Regions from separate parts of the Homo sapiens genome. Here all the other regions are linked to region 4. Evidence: promoter capture Hi-C in 16 types of primary human blood cells and fetal thymus (Javierre and others, 2016). All regions are on one chromosome and are shown on one strand. Each heading gives the region's core, a stretch centred on a gene start or on the middle of the fragment in contact. The rest is flanking DNA. Distances are from core to core; before and after follow the strand shown.

Region 1 (4,988 bases), core at 685-3,184, 150 kb after region 4:
CAGGTCTTTGGTAACATCATCGAGCCTTAACACTGAGGACAAAGCTTTGCCTGAATTTTCAGCTGATGACTAAATTCTCTTAATTGTTTAAGATAGTTGGAGATGATTTTTCTGTTGCTTGCAATCAAAATATTACACCACATTATTAAAGAAACTTATTTTTTTTTCTTTGAGACAGAATGTCACTCTGTCACACAGGCTAGAGTATAGTAGCATGATCTTGGCTCACTGCAGCCTCAACCTCCCGGGCTCAAGCAATCCTCCCACCTCAGCCTCCCCAGTAGGTGGGGAGTAGGCACCCCAGTAGGCACCCCAGCAGGTGCACGCCACTAAGCTCAGCTAATTTTTTAATTAAATTTTTTTTTCTTTTGTAGAGACAAGATTGCCCAAGCTGGTCTCAAACTCCTGGGCTCAGGAGATTCTCCCACCTTGGCCTCCCAGAGTGCTGGGATTTCAGGTGTGAGCCATCATGCCTGATCAGAAACCATTATTTTTATAGCACTTTGTAATGTAACTCTGAGCTATGTGAATTCAGTGGTAGATACGTTGAATTCTGCCTCTGGGAGTCATGAAAGGATTCATTCCGGGCACGGTGGCTCATGCCTATAATCCTAGCACTTTGGGAGGCCGAGGTAGGCAAGTCACTTGAGGTCAGCCTGGCCAACATGGTGAAACTCTGTCTCTACTAAAAAAAAAAAAAAAAAAAAAAAAAAAAAAACTAGCTGAGCACGGTGGTGGGTGCCTATAATCCCAGCTACTCAAGAGGCTGAAGCAGGAGAATCACGTGAACCTGGGAGGCCAAGGTTTCAGTGAGCTGAGATGGCGCCACGACGGCACTCCAGCCTGGGCGACAGAGCAAGACTCCGTCTCAAAAAAAAAAAAAAAAAAAAAAAGATTCATGTAAAAAGTGACATTTGAATTGCAACTTGCCACTTAGAAAGTATTTACTAAGTATAGGCCAGGCATGGTGGCTCACGCTTGTAATCCCAGCACTTTGGGAGGCCGAGGTGGGCGGATCGCGATATCACGAGTTCAAGACCAACCTGACCAACATGGTAAAACCCCGCCTCTACTAAAAATACGAAAATTAGCCAGGCATAATGGTGTGCACCTGTAATCCCAGCTACTCAGGAGGCTGAAGCAGGAGAATCACTTGAACCTGGGAGGCAGAGGTTGCAGTGAGCCAAGATCGTACCACTGCACTCCAGCCTGAGCGACAGAGCGAGACTCCATCTCAAAAAAAAAAAAAAGTATTCACTAAGTACAATAAGCTAAACAGGCCCGGTGCCATCTGGCTCACGCTTGTAATCCCAGCACTTTGGGAGGCCGAGGTGGGCGGACCACGAGGTCAGGAGATCAAGACCATCCTGGCTAACAGAGTGAAACCTCGTCTCTACTAAAAATACAAAAAAATTAGCCAGGCGTGGTGGCAGGCGCCTGTAATCCCAGGTACTTGAAAGGCTGAGGCAGGAGAATCACTTGAACCTGGGAGGTGGAGGTTGCGGTGAGCTGAGATTGCACCACTGCACTCCAGCCTGGGCAACAGAGCGAGACTCCGTCTCAAAAAAAAAAAAAAAAAAAAGGGGTTATAGGAGGAAGAAAAAGATTAACTAATAAAAGAAACTCAAAGACTATTTCTAGAAAAGCCACATGGCAGAAGGAGGAAAATCAAAAACATTGACCTTTCTCTTTAGAAGTAAAGCCTCCCCCAACCCCAAAATAATAATAATAGTAACAATGATAGGCCGGGTGTGGTGGCTCATGCCTGTCATCCCAGCACTTTGGAAGGCTGAGGTGGGCAGATCACCTGAAGTAGGGAGATCAAGACCGGCCTGGCCAACGTGGTGAGACCCCATCTCTACTAAAAATACAAAAATTAGCTGGGCATGGTGGCGCATGCCTGTAATCCCAGCTACTCGGGAGGCTGAGGCAGGAGAATTGCTTGAACCCCGGAGGCGAAGGTTGCAGCGAGCCAAGATCACACCATTGCATTCCAGCCTGCGCAACAGAGTGAGACTTCGTCTCAAAATAATAATAATAATAATAATAATAATAATAATAAAATAAAATGAAAGAAGTAAAACCTCCCTTGACTTCTTACATCTATCAATCAGTACTTATCCAAACTGTTACCGGAAAGGGGTCCCGATCCAGACCCCAAGAGAGGGTTTTTGGAACTCTCGAAAGAAAGAATTTGAGGTGAGTCCATAGAGTGAAGTGAAAGTAGGTTTAATAAGAAAGTAAAGGAGGCCGGGCGCGGTGGCTCACGCCTGTAATCCCAGCACTTTGGGAAGCCGAGGCGGGAGGATCACGAGATCGCCACCATCCTGGCTAACATGGTGAAACCTCGTCTCTACTAAAAATAGAAAAAATTAGCTGGGCATGGTGGCGGGTGCCTGTAGTTCCAGCTACTCGGAAGGCTGAGGCAGGAGAATGGCGTGAACCCAGGAGGCGGAGCTTGCAGTGAGCCGAGATCGTCACTGCATTCTAGCCTGGGAGACAAGGAGACTCCGTCTTAAAAAAAAAAAGAAAGAAAGAAAGTAAAGGAGTAAAAGAATGGCTACTACATCGGCAGAGAAGCAGCATGGACTGCTCGACTGAGTATACTTATGGTTATTTCTTGATTATGTGCTAAACAAGGGGTGGATTATTCATGAGTTTTTCAGGAAAGGGGTAGAGATTTCCCAGGAACTGAGGGCCCCTCCCCTTTTTAGACCATATAGGGTAACTTCCGAATGTTGCCATGTCATTTATAAACTGTCATGCACTGGTGGGAATGTCTTTTAGCATGCTAATGCATTATGATTAGCATATAATGAGCAGTGAGAACAACCAGAAGTCACTTTCATTGCCATCTTGGTTTCTGGGGGATTTTTGTTTGAGACAGTGTCTCACTCTGTTGCCCAGGCTGGAGTGCAGTGGCACAAACACAGTTCACTGCAGCCTCAACCTCAGGTGATCCTCTCACCTCAGCCTTTTGAGTAGCTGGAATTGTAGGCGGTTGCCACTACACTTGGCTAATATATATAATATATAATATTATATATATTATATATTTTATATATATTTTTATATATTATATATATTTTTATATATTTTATATTTTATATATAATATATTATATATGTTATATATATTATATGTTTTATATATATATAATATATATAATATATATATAAACTTCTTGTAGAGATGGGGTTTTGCTATGTTGCCCAGGCTGGTCTCAAACTCCTGGGCTCAAGCAGTCCACCTGCTTCAGCCTCCCAAAGTGCTAGGATTACAGGCATGAGCCACTACGCCTGGCCACCATCTTGGTTTTTGTGGGGCTTGGCTGGTCTCTTTACATCTTATTTTATCAGCAAGCTCTTTGTGACCTGTATCTTGTGCCGACCTCCTATCTCATCCTATGACTAAGAATGCCTAGCCTCCTGGGAATGCAGCCTAGTAGGTCTCAGCCTTATTTTACCCAGCCCCTATTCAAGATAAAGTCACTCTGGTTCAAATGCCTCTGACATATTTCTCCCCTCCCTTTTACAAGGGGACTCTTAATCCTAAGGGTTTTAGAGGGACAAAAATCCATCTTCCGTAACTTCTTCAGGCTAAACAGGGACAATGATATTCCTGCCTAACTACTAGGGTCTCTTGTATTCAGGGTAGAGAGGAGCTCAGTCAGGAAGCATCAGTATAGTAAGGACCATTCATAACTATGAATTTCGACAAAAGGGGATATCTGGAAGATTAACAAGGATTAAATTTAAGAAAACATTGAGGGGGAGGAGAGGTTGGAGGAAAAAAAGAAAAAAGAAAACATTGAGTAAGCTTATCCTGCATTCCTACACAAAGGGTACAACAGCAATATATTCCACAACAGTAAAGCAAAATAAGAAAAATTATCCCAAGTAAACTAAATAAGAAGGCTTTCCATTAACTGAGCAATTGCTGGAATCAAGCTAATATGGAATCACTAGCTGATTCCAGTACGTGCCCAGAATTAGAATACTGATCCAGATTTTTACACTATCCATCCCTCTTGTTTCTTCTGAGCTGCAGTCAGAGATCACTGGTTGATTGGCAGGAATAACCAGGGTTGGTATAAATTGCAGAAAAAAAACCCTCAAAAACAACTGATGAGACTAGACTCTAATAACAGGTGTAGCATATTTCTTAAAACATAATTTTTTGGGCCGGGCGCGGTGGCTCACGCCTGTAATCCCAGCACTTTGGGAGGCCAAGGCGGGCGGATCACAAGGTCAGGAGATCGAGACCATCCTGGGTAACACGGTGAAACCCCGTCTCTACTACAAATACAAAAAATTAGCCGGGCACGGTGGCAGGGGCCTGTAGTCCCAGCTACTCGGGAGGCTGAGGCAGGAGAATGGCATGAACCAGGGAGGCAGAGTCTGCAGTGAGCCGAGATAGCGCCACTGCAGTCTGGCCTGGGCGAAAGAGTGAGACTCTGTCTCAAAATAATAATAATAATAATAATAATAATAATAATAATTTTTCGGCTGGGCGCAGTGGCTCACACCTGTAATACCAGCACTTTGGGAGGCTGAGGCGGGCGAATCACAAGGTTAAGAGTTCGAGACAAGCCTAGCCAACATGGTGAAACCTCGCCTCTACTAAAAATACAAAAAATTAGCTGGGCGTAGTGACAGGCGCCTGTAATCCCAGCTACTTGGGAGACTGAGGCAGGAGAATCGCTTGAACCCAGGAGGCAGAGATTGCAGTAAGCTGAGATTGTGCCACTGGACTCCAGCCTGGGCGACAGAGTGAGACTCTGTCTCAAAAAATACAAAAAACAAAAAACAAAAAAAAACTACACATAATTTTTCTCTCTCCAGTCCTCATTTTTATTAAAAACAAATCATGATAGGACTAATTTGTTTGCAAAATAAGCTTTAGTCTTATTATACTTGGCCTGATTATTTGCATAAAGCACAGCAAGAATAATAATTTCCCATATAGGCTCATTTGTAAATTGGCTT
Region 2 (5,076 bases), core at 638-3,137, 180 kb after region 4:
GTTAAATCAAGCAGTATTGAATTCCTAATTGACACAAATGAGACAGACAGACAGCTGGAGGAGTGGGGGAGGGACAGAGAGCAGGTGCCCTGAATAATGGACAAAGAAGAGAGGCAGAATATAAATTGAAGCTAATGGTGAAGAAGCTCACTGTGAGTCTAGATTTTGTGCCACAAGAAAAGTAAACTTTGCCACAGCTTACTTTACGTAGAGCGGAAAGGATCCAGTGGTGTTTTTGCCAAGGATAAGGCAACAAGTTCCAAATGCTTGTGCCATTTTGGCTGCCCTGATGGCCAAGTTTGCCTCTTTTCAGGTACCATCATTTGTGAGAATCACTCTTAGTAAAGTCCTCATTCTGTGTTTTTTTCCAAAACAAACTTAATCACGTAGTGTTTGAACGAAAGAAACTGCTTTGAAAATTCTATTTGTCAAACAAAGGGATTCTTAACACGTAAGTTAGGAAGGTGAAGGGAAGGATGTTTCTAGATCTTCAAATGCCAGACATAGGGGGCATTCCTGCAGAGAAGGCATGTATCTTGTCAACTCCAGAATTTCCTCTGAGAATGCTGGGGGCTTTTTTCCTCTCAGTCCCCTCTTGATCAGAGCTTTGACTCCCCAGCTCAGACAGTTCTTTTCTGTAGCCATGGGAATTGCTCCCATAATTAGCAGTGTCTCCTGCCTGGAACTCAGACAAGTAAATGTTCAAACCTGGCAGCCGATCCTGGGAAGGAGAGCTGATTAAATCTTTCCTGTCGAGAGGCACCTTTTTGATTTGAATGTGACACCTACATCCCCCACCTCAGGTTTGTCTGGGGGAAGCAGTTTTGCCCATATCTTCATAACTGAAGATCCTGGTATTTTAAAGACACATTTAATCTTAAAAGGAGCCCATTGGTTTCCCAAGTTAAGTAACTTAGGAAAAAGCCTAGGCTTTTTTCCTCTCCTGGCCCCTTCTCCACTAAACACCACCCTGTGTTTGGTATGATGAAAGCTCCTGCTACACAGGTATCATCAAATGCCAGAGGCCTTGAGAAATAAAACGAGTTCAGAACACCACTAAGTACACATAAGTATTAACTACAAATGGAGGAGTGAAAGAGCAGGCAAACTATTTCTTTAGAAGTTTTAGTAAGACGGGCTGGAACCATCAAGCCCCAAAGTGAATACTCTTGGTGATATTCCGTTCCAGGAAAGCTTTCTACAGGCGGAGGTGTATTCTTATCTGGATGTAGCTGGATTATGTACTACCATTCAAACACTTTTGGGAGAGACAATATCCATTTTCCTACTGACATCAAGGCAGCCTTTTAAGTTTATCCAGATTTATTTTGGTTAGTGCAATAAAAAAGCAAGGTTGGAGAATTATGTTTAACAAAAATAAAGTCATTGTATGCTTAAAGTTTCCCACTGAAAGCTGCTTTTAAAGCAGTTTGCTGCTGCTCAGCTCCAGTCACCTCAGCAATACTTGCATTCAGTCAGATTGGCTGTGAACAAAGCAAATTTACTTCACACACAACAGCCCTAAACCTCCACTCTCAGGACAGAAGTCTTCCTTAGCAATGTTTTCTACATGGCTCTGGTTAAGGGCCATTCACTTACCTCTAACCTCTTTCTCCTGGGAGACAAAGGCACCTTTGGGCTGAAGTGACACAGGAGAGTTAGAATCAGATTTGTTATCGACATTGCAGCCTTCAGTTTCAGTAAGAGGCTAAATCTGTCTATTCCAACTACAGGAAGGCAATCTTTATAACCCCTGGAGCACTTGGCCAATTATGCACCTGCAAATATACCATACAGGACATTTCAGGTTCCTAGGCACTTTGAAAACCGATACTTAAACAGACTCAAGGGATGCTATCACCCACCTCGAATAATAGCTGCTTTGGAATCTGTTATTGGCACCAGAAAAAGAAAGAGTCCTCTGAAGTCATTCTAAAGCCATTTTTATTGTGCATTTTCAAACAAAGAACCTCACCAAAAGAACTTCTGTTACAAAATCAGGGTAGAAAGTCAAACTCATCTCATCTAAGAGTCAATTACCCTGGCAATTTTGTGAGGCGATGGGAAATGAGCGTTAGAGGAGAGGACTGTGGGGAGGAGGTGGGATTGGCTTTTAAAATCCCCTGGGTGAGAAGGGTGTTCCCACTGACTCTAAACCCTAACAATTGCAACAGAAGGGCCTCTGTGACTTTCTGGCTATAAACTTTTTATGATTATTAACTGAGGAAACCTAGAATATGTGGAATTTTAACAGTTGGCTTTCAACCTCCATTTGCTCCTTTCTCAGAAACTTGGTTTTGCACAGTGTAATAATCTAAGGCTCAGAATTTATGTTAGTTACCTTGCTGTTCCTTGATAAAAAGCTACCTTCTTACATATCTTACTTCCAATAAAGAGGCAGATTCCCTATGTACTGTTTATCTCGGGAAAGAAATACATGTGGGAAAAGAAGCAATTTTCTTCTCATTGCAATTAAATTAAATCATGACCACCTGTTGTGGGATTATCCTGCCATCTGCTGTTCAAAAGAGAAACAACAGCAGAGAACCAGAAAGAAGAGGCAAAATGTTGGAAAGCTTTGCTCCCAGATGTCCATCAGTTGATTACGGTTATTGGTATAGTTAAAATTTTCAGTGTTACACCTCTTTTAGAATTTATCTATCAGGTTTTCCAGTGTTCACTGAAATTTGTCTCTTAGACAAGTTCTAAAAGAGCTGTAACACTGAAGATGGTTCTCTTCTCTGGAAAAACTTCCCACGGGAAAAACAAAAATCTTCCTTTAAAAATTTTTTTAAAGGATCTCACTTTCTTTCTTTCTTTCTTTTCTTTTTTTTTTTTTTTTTTTGAGATGGAGTGTCGCTCTGTTGCCCCGGCTGGAGTGCAGTGGCGTGATCTTGGCTCACTGCAACCCCCACCTCCTGGGTTCCAGCGATTCTCCTGCCTCAGCCTCCAGAGTAGCTGGGATTACAGGCATGTGCCACCATGCCAGACTCATTTTCGTATTATTATTATTTATTAATAATAGCTATTGTTTTAGTAGAGACGGGATTTCACTATGTTGGCCAGGCTGGTCTTGAACTCATGACCTCGGGTGATCCACCCGCCTCGGCCTCCCAAAGTGCTGGGATTATAGGCATGAGCCACCAAGCCCGGCCTCACTTTCTATTTATTTAATTTTTTTGAGACAGGGTTTGCTCTGTTGCCCAAGTTGGAGTACAGTGGCATGATTATGGCTCACTGCAGCCTCTAACTCCTGGGCTCAATTGATCCTCCCACCTCAACCTCCCAAGTAGCTGGGACCACAGATGTGCGCCACCCCAACCAGCTAATTTTTGTTTTTATTTAAAAAATTTTGTTGAGACAGAGTCCACTCTGTTGTCCAAGCTGGAGTGCAGTGGTGTGATCATGGTTCACTGCAGCCTTGACCTCCCAGACTCAAGTGATCCTCCCACCTCAGCCTCCCAAATAGCTGGGACTACACCACTATGCTCAGCTAATTTTTGTATTTTTTGTAGAGATAGTGTCTCCCTATGTTGCCCAGGCTGGTCTCGATCTCCGGGGCTCAAGTGATCCTTCTGCCTCGGTCTCCCAAAGTGCTGGGATTACAGGTATGAACCACTGTGCCTGGGCTGATTTTTTTTAATTTTTAAATTATTATTATTATTTTTTTGAGACTTGCTCTGTTGCCCAGGCTGGAGTGCAATGATGCAATCTTGACTCACTGCAACCTCTGCCTCCCGGGTTCAAGCGATTCTCCTGCCTCAGCCTCCCGAGTAGCTGGGATTACAGGCACGCACCACCATACCCGGCTAATTTTTGTATTTTTAGTAGAGATGAGTTTTCACCATGTTGGCCAGGCTGGTCTTGAACTCCTGACCTCAGGTGATCCGCCTGCCTTGGCCTCCCAAAGTGCTAGGATTATAGGCGTGAGCCACTGCTCCCAGCCCTGATTTATTATTAATATTTTATTTTGTCTACAGGTTTTCCCCAATCTTTTTTGTTTGTTTGTTTGTTTTGTTTTGTTTGAGACAGAGTCCAGGCTGCAGTGCAGTGGCACGATCTCGGGTCACTGCAACCTCTGCCCCCCAGGTTCAAGTGATTCTCCTGTCTCAGTCTCCTGAGTAGCTGGGATTACAGGCACGTGCCACCACGCCCGGCTGATTTTTTTGTATTTTTAGTAGAGACGGGGTTTTGACATGTTGGCTAGGCTGGCCTCGAACTCCTAACCTCAGGTAATCCACCCACTTCTGTCTCCCACAGTGCTGGGATTACAGGCGTTAGCCACTGTGCCCGGCTGTTTCTCCCTAATCTTATCCATATCCCTGGTTTCTTCCTTGGGATTAATAGGGAAAATATGAAACTTTAATTTTCCCTCACTCTTGGCAAAATAATAATAAGATTTATAATCCTATTAAAAGGCATATTCTCCACTCAGTAATCTAAGTCATATGAGTGCGTCCCCTGGGCTTTTCATTGTCTACCACTCTAATTGTCTCCTATCTGGTCTTCCTTTCTCCAGGGCATTGTTCACACCACTGCCAGTCAGAGTAATCATTTTCCAATGCAAAATTGGTCAAGCCATTCCCCAGCTCAGAATCCTTCAATGGCTCTCACTTTCTTTCTTTCTTTTTTTTTTTTGAGTCTCGCTCTTGTCACCCAGGCTGGAGTGCAATGTGCAATGGCGCAATCCTCTGCCTCCCCGGTTCAAGTGATTCTCCTGCCTCAGCCTCCTGAGTAGCTGAGATTACAGGTGCCTGCCACCATGCCCAGCTAATTTTTGTATTTTTAGTAGAGATGGGGTTTCACCATGTTGGCCAGGCTGGTCTCGAATTAAAGTGCTGGGATTACAGCCATGAGCCACTGCACCTGGCCGGCTCTCACTTTCTTGTAGGATTAAGTTCAAGATCCTAGTCCTGACATTCAAGGCCTTTGGGTTGAATTTAAGTTCCCTGATTTATCAGGTTATTTTATACCTCTTTGATTTTGCTTGTGCTGTTTTCCTTGCCAGAAACACCCTTTCTGGCCATATATACCTGACAAACCATGCCCATCTTTTAGGTAGCTGGATGTCAGCTC
Region 3 (4,618 bases), core at 1,632-4,131, 230 kb after region 4:
CTTGCACTCAGAGTAGGAGCCCACACCAATTGTCTCCTTTACCACGTAGCCGTCACTAAAAACCAGGTTCTTCCCATGGAGTTGCTGTAGGAGACCAAAAATTGTGGCTGACCCCTGGCTCTAGAGTGCTAGGGGTCATCCCCCAGGACCTAAGGTCTTGGCTCAGTAGAGACAGCACCAGGGAAGGGCCAGGAGACTTGGGGTAGAGTGTTGGCCATGTGACCGCAGGTGACAGCCTGCCCCTCTCTGGGCCTCAGTTTTCTACTCTATATAATGGGCATACTCACTGGCTCCCAGCCTGCCTGGACTGCAGCCTGTGGTCAGAGGGCAGTGTAGGGAGTGGGAAACAGGGTCACAACACACATGGAGAGGACTTTAGTTCTGAAAAGTCTGGGCAGGCCTGGGAGGGACGCAGGAGCCCTGAGCTGAGTTCCAGCTGTGCCACTAAGTACGGCTTTGAGTGGCCTGCCTCCCTTTCTGGGGTGTCACAGCTCAACTCATGGGGTGTCTCAAGGTTCTGGGACATTAGCCGTAGCAATGCTGAATGGTGCTTAGTGTGTGCTGTGTGCCAGGCACTATTCTAAGCACTTTCATCAGGTGACTGCATGCCCCACGGCCAGCCCTGGCTTGCGCATGCGGTCCTTGCATCCAGTCTGATTTAATATTTGTCCTGGACTAAGATGTCCCAGTTTGGAAAATAAATTACATAGTCACCTTAACTTTATTTTTTATTTTATTTATTTATTTTTTGAGACAGAGTCTTACGCTGTTGCCCAGGCTGGAGTGCAGTGGTACGTTCTCAGCTCACTGCAACCTCTGCCTCCCAAGTAGCTGGGACTATAGGCACGCGCCAACACGCCCAGCTGATTTTTGTATTTTTAGAGACGGGGTTTCGCCATGTTGGCCAGATGGGTCTGTTTAAATTCCTGGCCTCAAGCAATCCACCCTTCTTGGCCTCCCAAAGTGCTGGGATTACAGGCATGAGCCACCGTGCCCAGCCCACATGAACTTTACATGTATTAACTCTAATAATCCTCATAACAGCTCTATGGAGGAAGCTTCTATCATTTCCCCCATTTACAGATGAGGAAACTGAGGCACGAGGAAGGGAGTATCTCATCCAAAGTCCATTATCTGGTCAGGTGCTCATGTCTGTAATCTCAGCACCTTGGGAGGCTGAGGTGGGCGGATCACTTGAGGTCAGGAGTTTGACACCAGCCTAGCCAACATGGTAAAACCCCGTCTCTACTAAAAATACAAAAAAAAAAAAAAAAAATTAGCTGGGTGTGGTGGTGTATATCTGTAGTCCCAGCTATTCGGGAGACTGAGGCAGGAGAATTTTTTGAACCTGGGAGGTGGAGGCTGTAGTGAGCTGAGATTGTGCCACTGCACTCCAGCCTGGGCAACAGAGCAAGACTACGTCTCAAAAACAAACAAACAAAAAACCCCAAAGTCCATTATCTTGTGAATCTGGAACCCATGCAATGAGCTCCACAGTCTACATTCTTGCCTCTCAACCTGAAACTTTCATTAGCAGTAGAAGTGTACAAATGGGGAACAAGTGTGATGAGATCCAAGTCCTTCGCTACACTTATGCCGGAGACACGACAGTCACTCGGCACCACCACCCTGGGCACCTCCTGACATGTACCCAGACCCTGGCTCTGTGCTGGGAAATGTACACCCATATCATCATCCAATTATCAGGGCCACTGTGTGAGGTGGGCCTTACTGTCCCTGTTTTATGTTGGAGGCCCTACTGGTCCCACAGTGGCATGAGGGTATGAACCTGGTTCTGTCCAACTCAGAGCCTGTGTACTCAGCCATTCTTTAGAAAAGGATAATGGAGCAGCAGCCCCCTGCCCCCCTCACCTGTACCACCGAGTGCAGGGGTGCCTGCGGGGCACGAGGCTTGCCGTCGTCTTCCATCAGGCCGGTGGCCACGAAGCTGAAGCCCCGGAACAGCTGATGGGCCCCAGCGCTGGGGGGGATGCCTGGGGAATCTGTACGGATGGAAGGAGAATGTGAGGGTACCTGAGGAGGTCCCCTCGACCCTGAGGCAGCCCAGCAAAGGGGGAGCACAGGGCCTCCAGACCTGCCTCAGGGGCTGGCCGTGGCGGGAGCCTGCAGAGGGCCTGTCCATCACAGGCCTTGGCCCAACTGCTCATATGTGTTTATTAGACCAGCCCAGTCCTGTCGCATGAGGAACAAAAAAGACTCTCACATCCACCTCCATCCCAGGCCAAGACAGTTCATCCCTTCCTGGATGCTTCCTCCCCAGCTTCCCCATCTTACGTCAGCCCCTTCAGGTCCATCTCTGCACAGCAGCCAGAGGGAAGGTTCCAACCACAAATCTGCCACCCTGCCCACACCTTTCAAAGGTTCCCGTCTGCCTTCAGGAGTAAGTCCAGCTCCTGAGTCTGGCAATTGAGGGCCCTGTGATCCTCACCTCCTCTCTCTCCATACCACAGCTGAGCCATGTTGGACTTCTCAGATCCTTAGAGGGGTCTCTGAGCCCTTGCACACACTGTTCCCTTTAACTAGATAATCCACTCCTTGCCTATCCTTCAAGACTCAACTCGCACGCTCCCTCCTCTGAGAAGCCTTGCCTGATGCTGCTCCTCCGGCCCCTGACTCCTACGAAGCTGCACTTGTCACGTTGCCCAGCGGACTGCTTGGAGAAGTGCTGTCTCTGTCATCAGAGGCGTGCAAGTGCAGTGAGAAAAGCACCCCCTTGTGGATCACCTGAGGTCAGGAGTTCGAGACCAGCCTGGCCAACATGGTGAAACCCCGTCTCTACTAAAAATACAAAAATTAGCCAGGCGTGCTGACACATGCCTGTAATCCCAGCTACTCGGGAGGCTGAGGCAGGAGAATCTCTTGAACCCAGGAGGTGGAGGTTGCAGTAAGCTGAGATCACGCCATTGCATTCCAGCCTGGGCAACAGAGCGAGACTCCATCTTGAAAAGAGGAGAGGAGAGGGAAGGGAAGGAGAGGGAAGGGGAGGGGAGGGGAGGGGAGGGGAGGGGAGGAGAGGGGAGGGGAGGAGAGGAGAGAAGAAAAGCACACCCTCTCCTAAAACATGCCCTTATAGGAGGTTTCCCAGAACATTCCACCCCACACCCACTGTCAATATCTGGCCAAAAAGTTAGGATTCACCAGGTTCCTTCCCAGAAGCTCCCTCACTGGCTTCTTGTAGCAACCCCAGGGAATGAGTGGGTTTGTGGCTGTGCCCTTGTTCCAGATAAGTACACGGAGGCCGGGCAGTCAGGGCAGCCAAAGCTGATTCCCATGCCTGTCCCTGACCTATGGGCACTGTCACCTCTGCTCAGCCACCACACAGTGTGGCTGGGTCAGATTCTTTCTCCCTGACGTGATGGTAAGCCTGATGTGTTTGGTCTTCCCAGTGGGCTGGAAGGTGCCCCGGGCAGGGGTCCTGGCTTTTCTACTGTGGCCTTCACCACCCACACATCCCCACTCCCACTCTCTCACCAGACACAAAGAGACCCACAGAGCCCCATAGTGAGAGAGTCGGGCGGAGTGAGACAGGGACAAAGTCAGTCCCACGGAGCCAGAAACTCACCCGCCTGCCCACCCGCATACCTCGGCCTGTCAGTGTCCCTGACTATCTCTGCCCCCCAAGCTGCCACCGACTCCCGGCTTCCCTCCTGTACCAGCCCAAGACAGACAAAACAGATAAGGGACGCACCCTTGGGTGTGCGGGACGTGAACTCGGTGTCAAAGTAGAAGGTGTCATCAGGCTGAGCCACTGCTGGCTTGAAGGGTGGCTTGATCTCACGACGGTATAGCTTCTGCACAGTGGGGTGGGCACTCTGGTCACCATGGCATCCTCAACAGCCCACCAGGAGCCCCATGCAGGAGGAGGTGCTGGGCTTGGAACATAGGCCATATTGCCCAGCTCTCGGAATTGCTTGCCCTCAGGAGGCCAGCCCTTGTCTTCAAGGGCAGGCTGTGACCCTCTGCTCCTGCGTCTGGGGCCCTCGCTGGCAGAGGCTCCCCTCCCACCACCCTTCCTGTGGCCAAGATGGCTGAGCCCTGGCCAGAGCCCTGGTGTGGGTGGACACACTCACATTCCAGTCAATGGTGGAGTAGAAGACATGCCGCTTGATTTCCTCTGCCCCATCAGGGCCGGAGCCTGAAAGAGCCCAAATGAAGGGTCTGTCCCTGGCTGGCACAAGTCCCAGATATTACCCTGCCCACCAAGCAGCCTCACAGGGCTCTGGGACCAGCTGCTGGAGCAGAGGGGAAAATGGGCTCACTCAGCCTCAAATCTACCCAGCCATCACCCTAAGGCCTGTCACCTACTCAGCATTTTCCACTTTCTGGAGCTTCTGATGAAGAAATTCCAATGTACCAGTGGGAGGAGGAAGGCCCAGAGACTTTAGGCAACTTCTCCAAGGCCACACAGTTAGAACAGAAGCTGAGCTTGTTCTGAGACCTACAGAGAGCCCCACCTCATTCCAAGGCAAGCCTCATCTCTGTTCCTCTTATCCCATTGACCTTTTCAACCATAGGACAGGCTGTTACTCCATTCGACCCCAGGGGCCTTGACTGGACCTTACACAGCTGGTCATGGACCAGATGAACCCAGGAGCCA
Region 4 (4,977 bases), core at 2,209-4,708:
AGTTGTGTGTGGGTGAGGCAGGAAGGGCAGGCACTCGGGGGAATAGGAGGAACTATTACATATCCAGATGGTTTTAGGACTTGCACATTGCCACGTTTCTCCCACTCAACTGACACAATGCTCAGTCTCCTAGTAAGGGGACACAGGGCAATACTTTGAGCTGTCCCACCCTATAAGCATCTCTGGTTACGGAACATCACAGTCTGTTGGAGAGACCACTAGCTCAGGAGTTAGGAAACATGGGGTCAAACTCCAGCCCTTCTCTATCTTGCTATGTGGCTTTGGGGATGTCACTTAACCTTTCTGGGCCTCTGCTGCTTCATGGGTAAAACAAGATCAACAGACCGTGTTTCTAAGATTCCTGACAACTTTTCAGCTCTAAAGTCTATGTCTCTGTGGTTCCAACCACATGGAGGGGCACACCTGAGAGGTGGAAAGGAGATGGGGACACTTCTTACTGCCTAGTCCAGTCATGTAGCAATAGCACATTCAGGACAAAGGATGGGAGACTGACCTGCAGCATCAGAGTCAGGATACGGCAGCTGACTGCAAACCTCAGCACCTCCTTCCGGGATGGGTCCTGGGGCCACATCCTTTCACCACCAGGAATTCAGGGGTGTTGCTACCAGGATTGAGCTCCCTCAGGCCTCTAAACCCCAAAGGAGGAAAATGTCACACATCGAGTGAAAGCAAATTCTTGAAAGCATTCGTCACTGGAACCTCCCCTCTCAGAATTACTATGACAAACTTAACCAACCACCTAACTTCCCAGATGAGGGGAAAGCATCTTGACAGCAAATGGGTTCAGTAGGTGTCACTGTGAAGCCCTGAACTGTCGTTGGTAAAGTTCCATACAGCTAAGCAAGTAGCTGGAAAGCTAAGGTCACAGAAATCTTTTAAAGCCTATTGGATGCACTTCTGCAGGAACTAAAGATCTGGGTTCAACTCCTGACTCTGTCACTTACAAGTTCTCATTAGTCCCTCTGAGCCTCAGTTCTTTATATAAAAAATGGGAGCAGACTTTTTTTTTTTCCTATCTCACAAAATTGTCATGATGGTGAAACAGACCAAAGTGTGAAGTTCTACTCAAATCTGTGTTGTGGTTGCTATTATTTGGCGTGTGCCCTTTTCCTCTTGCCCAGAATAATAAACTAGGTCCCAAACCAGAGTCCCCAAAGTGGGGCATAAAACCATACTAGAAGACCATAATGACTCCACACTCTAGCTTAGCTCTCTGATGTGTGTTCAGCTGGTCTGTTAAATTAAGTGGGGAAGGAAAAGAAAACCACCACTCAGCAGGACCTCAGCCAGCTCACACTGCTGAAACAAACTGAGGGTGAAGACAGAGTAGACTACCAGGGATGGAGAAAACTGTTATTTGCCATCTCTTTGTTGGGATGGTAGCAACGTATAAACAATCGCAAAGCCACTCCGAGGCAGGGAATGCACCTTAAGGCATCTTTTATAATTCCTTGAGCTAAAAGGAGTCATAAAGGCTCCTCAAGAACTTTCAAACACCAGCCTGGGAAATTTGAAAGGAAAGCAAAAGCATCAGAGGCAGCTCATCAATTTGGGATGAAGAACTATGCCTAAAAGGAAAAAAAAAATTTGAACTGAGAAATTTAAGGAGGACGGCTGGAAGACTCTTTTTCTTCTCTTATCTGGCGAATACCTAAAAAACCTGTATCACTTGTTTCTGGAATTCTCTGATCCTCACTAGACAGTGTGCTATGCCCTCATTACATTCTGCCCTATTGCCGTTATTGCTATTGCTTATTTAAGTTGCTAAGGGCAGGGGCTTTACATCACAACTATATCCCAGGGCCTAGAACACAAATAGGCATCTTAAACCTGTGTTCTGAATGAATGGAAGTGGTAGGGACAGGATACAGCATCAGCAGTTCACTGACTCTAGATATGAAATCAGTGCCCCAAGTATTCTTCCCATCATATCTCATGTCAAGAGCAAGACGACAAAGTCACAGAAGCCACAGGAAAATAAAATTTCCCCAGAAAGGGAGCCAAGTTGGCCAATGGCAACAGTACTCTTTCCTTGGCACAAGGGGGCGCCTGCTGCTTACTCCATCGCCAGGAGGCCTGGAGGAAGGGAGGGGCCCCCAATTCCACACCGGTTGGCTCACGAAAATTCGGTTCAAAGGCAAGCTTCTGAAAGCCCCAGACAGTAACGATAGTTTGTGAATCTAAACGTTTCCAACGTATGACTCGCTGAATCGAGAGAAATCACGGAAATGGGCATACTCAACCTCACGCGGCTACTCCTTCCCTATCCTAGGGCGAATTCACTCTTTTTTCCTCTTCCTTGGCTTCCCACGCGCATGCAGAAGAGAAGCTGGGATCAGAAAAGCACCTAACCCACCTCTGCCACTTGACCATGCTTGCATTCTTCCTTTCCTCTCTCGAGTCAAGCTCTAGCCTCAGCGACTACAGATGTGTGTAGCCCACACTTTGCTTACAGGTAAACCAAGTAAAAACAAAGCTAGTCAATTCTCCCTCTCAGCTAATTGCCCACCTCACTTCCCAACAACCCCTTTGCCAAATCACAGACTCTTAACTGGCAGGACACTTACAGATCAACTAGTTTCACTCTTCAAAAATTTTCCCGTGAGATAAATAGGCTCCAGAGATCTCATCAGACACTGTGAGGCTAGTATAATTACCATCGCCATTTTATGGATATGGAAACTGAGGCTCACTGGGGTCAAGTGACGTACCCAGGGCTACTTAAAGAGGCTGTCATGTTTTCTGCTTCTTAAACCTCACGGTACCAGCCCGCATCCCTCGCCAAAGGGTACGCGCCCTTTCCGAGCCAGGATTATGACCCAGGTCACCCAAACGCCTAGCCCAGTACTTCCATGCCGCAGCCTGCCCTTGCTAGGTATGCTTAGGGTAGTTGGGCCCTATCTGAGAATCTGGGACATCCTGTTGAACGGCAGCTCTGGACCCTCTGGGTAAGACTAACACCCCCTGCGCAGGCTGGAGAAGTCGCTCTGACCCAGGGTCCTCAGAGCCAAAGGCCTCGTGGGGGCTGCCTTCTGTCAGCCCAGCCGTGTCCGCAACCCGTTTCTGGCCGGCTCCTTTTGGACACAGTCCCTTCTGGGTACTAATCATCCACGCTCACCCCAGAGGGGCCACGGCCCAAGGACCACTCCCGAGGGAGCCTGCAGAGCCCCACCAGGCCACAGGGCCGGAAGCAGACGAGGGCGGGAGGCTGGAAAGGAAGAGGCGGCGCCCGAGGCTGCTATGGCGGAGGGGCGGGGCTCCCCGCTTCTCCGGGCGTCTGTCTCATTTCTACCGGCTTCCATTTGACAGCTTCCCTCCCGCCAGAACTCCAGGGCTCCCAAGCTGGCGCGGGGTCCTCAGCCCCTGCCCGTCCCGACCTCCCCGGCGGGGACCGAACCTCAGCTCCTCCATCCGGGGCCCACGCGGCCCGCGCCTGCGCGCTGGCTCCGCCGACGGCGTCCCCGCCCCGCTCCTGCCCGGACTTGGAGCAGCCCCGCCTCCCTGCGCGGCGGCCATGTTGACTCCGGGCGAGCGGGATGGGGGTCGCCGCTCGGCGCCTCGCCTCGTAGCACCTTCCCACCTTGGTGACACCTGAAGAGTTCTCTCGCACTTCGCTCTCCTTCAAGGCCCCCCGCCACCCCGCCTTCAAATAGTGAGCGGAGGCTGCTGTCTCAGAGTCAGTGCTCTTGCCCCAGCTCCCGCTGACGTTCACTGAGTTCCCGGTGTGGGCCGAGGCTCTTGTAGTCGGAGGCTGACCCGCAGCCTCTTCACAGAAACCAGAGCCGCGCTCTTCCTGCTGTCAGGCAACAACAGCTCAGCACAGGGCCTGACACACAATAGATGTCCTCTGAATAGCCAAAGAAAAACATTCTTGGGGTTTCTGTGGCCGGCAGCGGCACCCTGCGTCCTGGGTGTGAAGAAAGTGGGGGATCCCCCTGATTTTCCCCTCCTCTATCTACCAGAGACCTTCTGTCCTACTTTAGTCCTCAGCCCCACCTCAGGTGGCTAATGAGGATGGTGAAGAAAACCTCAGAGAACACCCTCCAGGGCTCCTTTCACCTCCCTCACCCAAGCAGTTTCTCTCATAGGAAGTGGGGCCAAAAAAAGAAGAAAAAAAAAGAGGCGAACTCAACAAAACCGTCTATTGGGGGGAGCGGCCAGTTTGTACCCTTGTAACGGAAACTGTTAGAACAACTTTGCACCCTCCTTAAAGGAAACAGATGATAAATCCTTCTCCGTTGGTGGATTTCTTGTTTCTCAGGATTCCAAAGCCTTATGTGGTTTCAGTTATCTGCCCTCCAAACGAAGCCAGGGGCCGGGTTAGCCTCTGGCCACAGCCTGGCTCAGGGAGGGGTTTATCTTCTGCAACGGCTACTCATGTGGGTGGGAACAAAGAGATGGTTGCTACCTCTCCAGGCGAAGACCAGCCCACATCAGTCTGTGGGGGCCTGGGACTGTATCTCTTGACTCTGTAACTCATTTCAGGCCCTGAGACCTAAATTGCCTTCAGATATCTGTTGTGTGCAAGGTGGAGAAAAGGCAAATCATATTTAGTCGTTGTGTGTTGGAGAAGGGGGAAAAAATGGAGTTTCATGGCCCTTCCCCCAGGTTTTTCAGTGCCACGCACTTGTTCTCAGCTCCAGAGGCCTGTGAGTAACGTGGCAAAGCCTGGGGACACACTTGTGACTGGGGCCTAAGGCTGTGACTTGAATCTCTAGAAGTCCACCATGAGGCTCCAAGCAGCACTCTCTCTGCAAAGACAAAACTGAGAAATGAACTGTCCTTGCTCTGTAAATTCACAAGGGGAAAAAAGACATGCATTCTCAGGGTTCCCTCTGTCCACATCAAATTCTCTCAAAAATCTATTTGTAAAAAGGCCAGGGGTCTCTCAAGACAAGTCAGAATGTTTTTTAAAAGCTCAGCTGTCACCCTGTAGAGGTAGAACTTTATCCAGAT

What was found. Contacts are between HindIII fragments. The CHiCAGO score rates a contact against its expected background, and 5 or more counts as called.
Region 1: a contact is called between a fragment that was not itself captured here and the fragment with the promoter of PIGV in region 4, in 2 of 17 cell types (neutrophils and total CD8 T cells). The highest score is 6.3, in neutrophils.
Region 2: a fragment that was not itself captured here is called in contact with the fragment with the promoter of PIGV in region 4 in 17 of 17 cell types (megakaryocytes, activated CD4 T cells, naive CD8 T cells and 14 more); the score reaches 167.7 in megakaryocytes.
Region 3: a fragment that was not itself captured here is called in contact with the fragment with the promoter of PIGV in region 4 in 12 of 17 cell types (neutrophils, erythroblasts, M1 macrophages and 9 more); the score reaches 8.2 in neutrophils.

What each region holds. Positions count from the first base shown.
Region 1 is chr1:26,634,431-26,639,418 of GRCh38, reverse strand. No RefSeq gene overlaps it. Among named protein-coding and RNA genes, the nearest start is that of ARID1A, 59 kb to the left of the region's middle. The HindIII fragment of the contact is 3,775 bases long and covers 47-3,821 here.
Region 2 is chr1:26,599,988-26,605,063 of GRCh38, reverse strand. LOC124904769 (U7 small nuclear RNA) reads left to right here and starts at 2,632; the gene lies at 2,632-2,695. The HindIII fragment of the contact is 1,382 bases long and covers 1,197-2,578 here.
Region 3 is chr1:26,556,192-26,560,809 of GRCh38, reverse strand. It overlaps RPS6KA1 (ribosomal protein S6 kinase A1), which reads right to left. Exons shown (of 22, transcript NM_002953.4): 12 at 4,092-4,156; 13 at 3,710-3,812; 14 at 1,873-2,003; 15 at 1-84. Among named protein-coding and RNA genes, the nearest start is that of MIR1976, 4.0 kb to the right of the region's middle. The HindIII fragment of the contact is 3,642 bases long and covers 1,061-4,618 here.
Region 4 is chr1:26,786,431-26,791,407 of GRCh38, reverse strand. It overlaps PIGV (phosphatidylinositol glycan anchor biosynthesis class V), which reads right to left and starts at 3,458. Exons shown (of 4, transcript NM_017837.4): 1 at 3,140-3,458; 2 at 515-649. The coding sequence starts at 592. RefSeq lists enhancers at 1,882-2,011, 2,819-3,018, 2,706-3,532, 3,579-4,018, 4,539-4,688 and a silencer at 3,319-3,528. The HindIII fragment of the contact is 3,281 bases long and covers 2,166-4,977 here.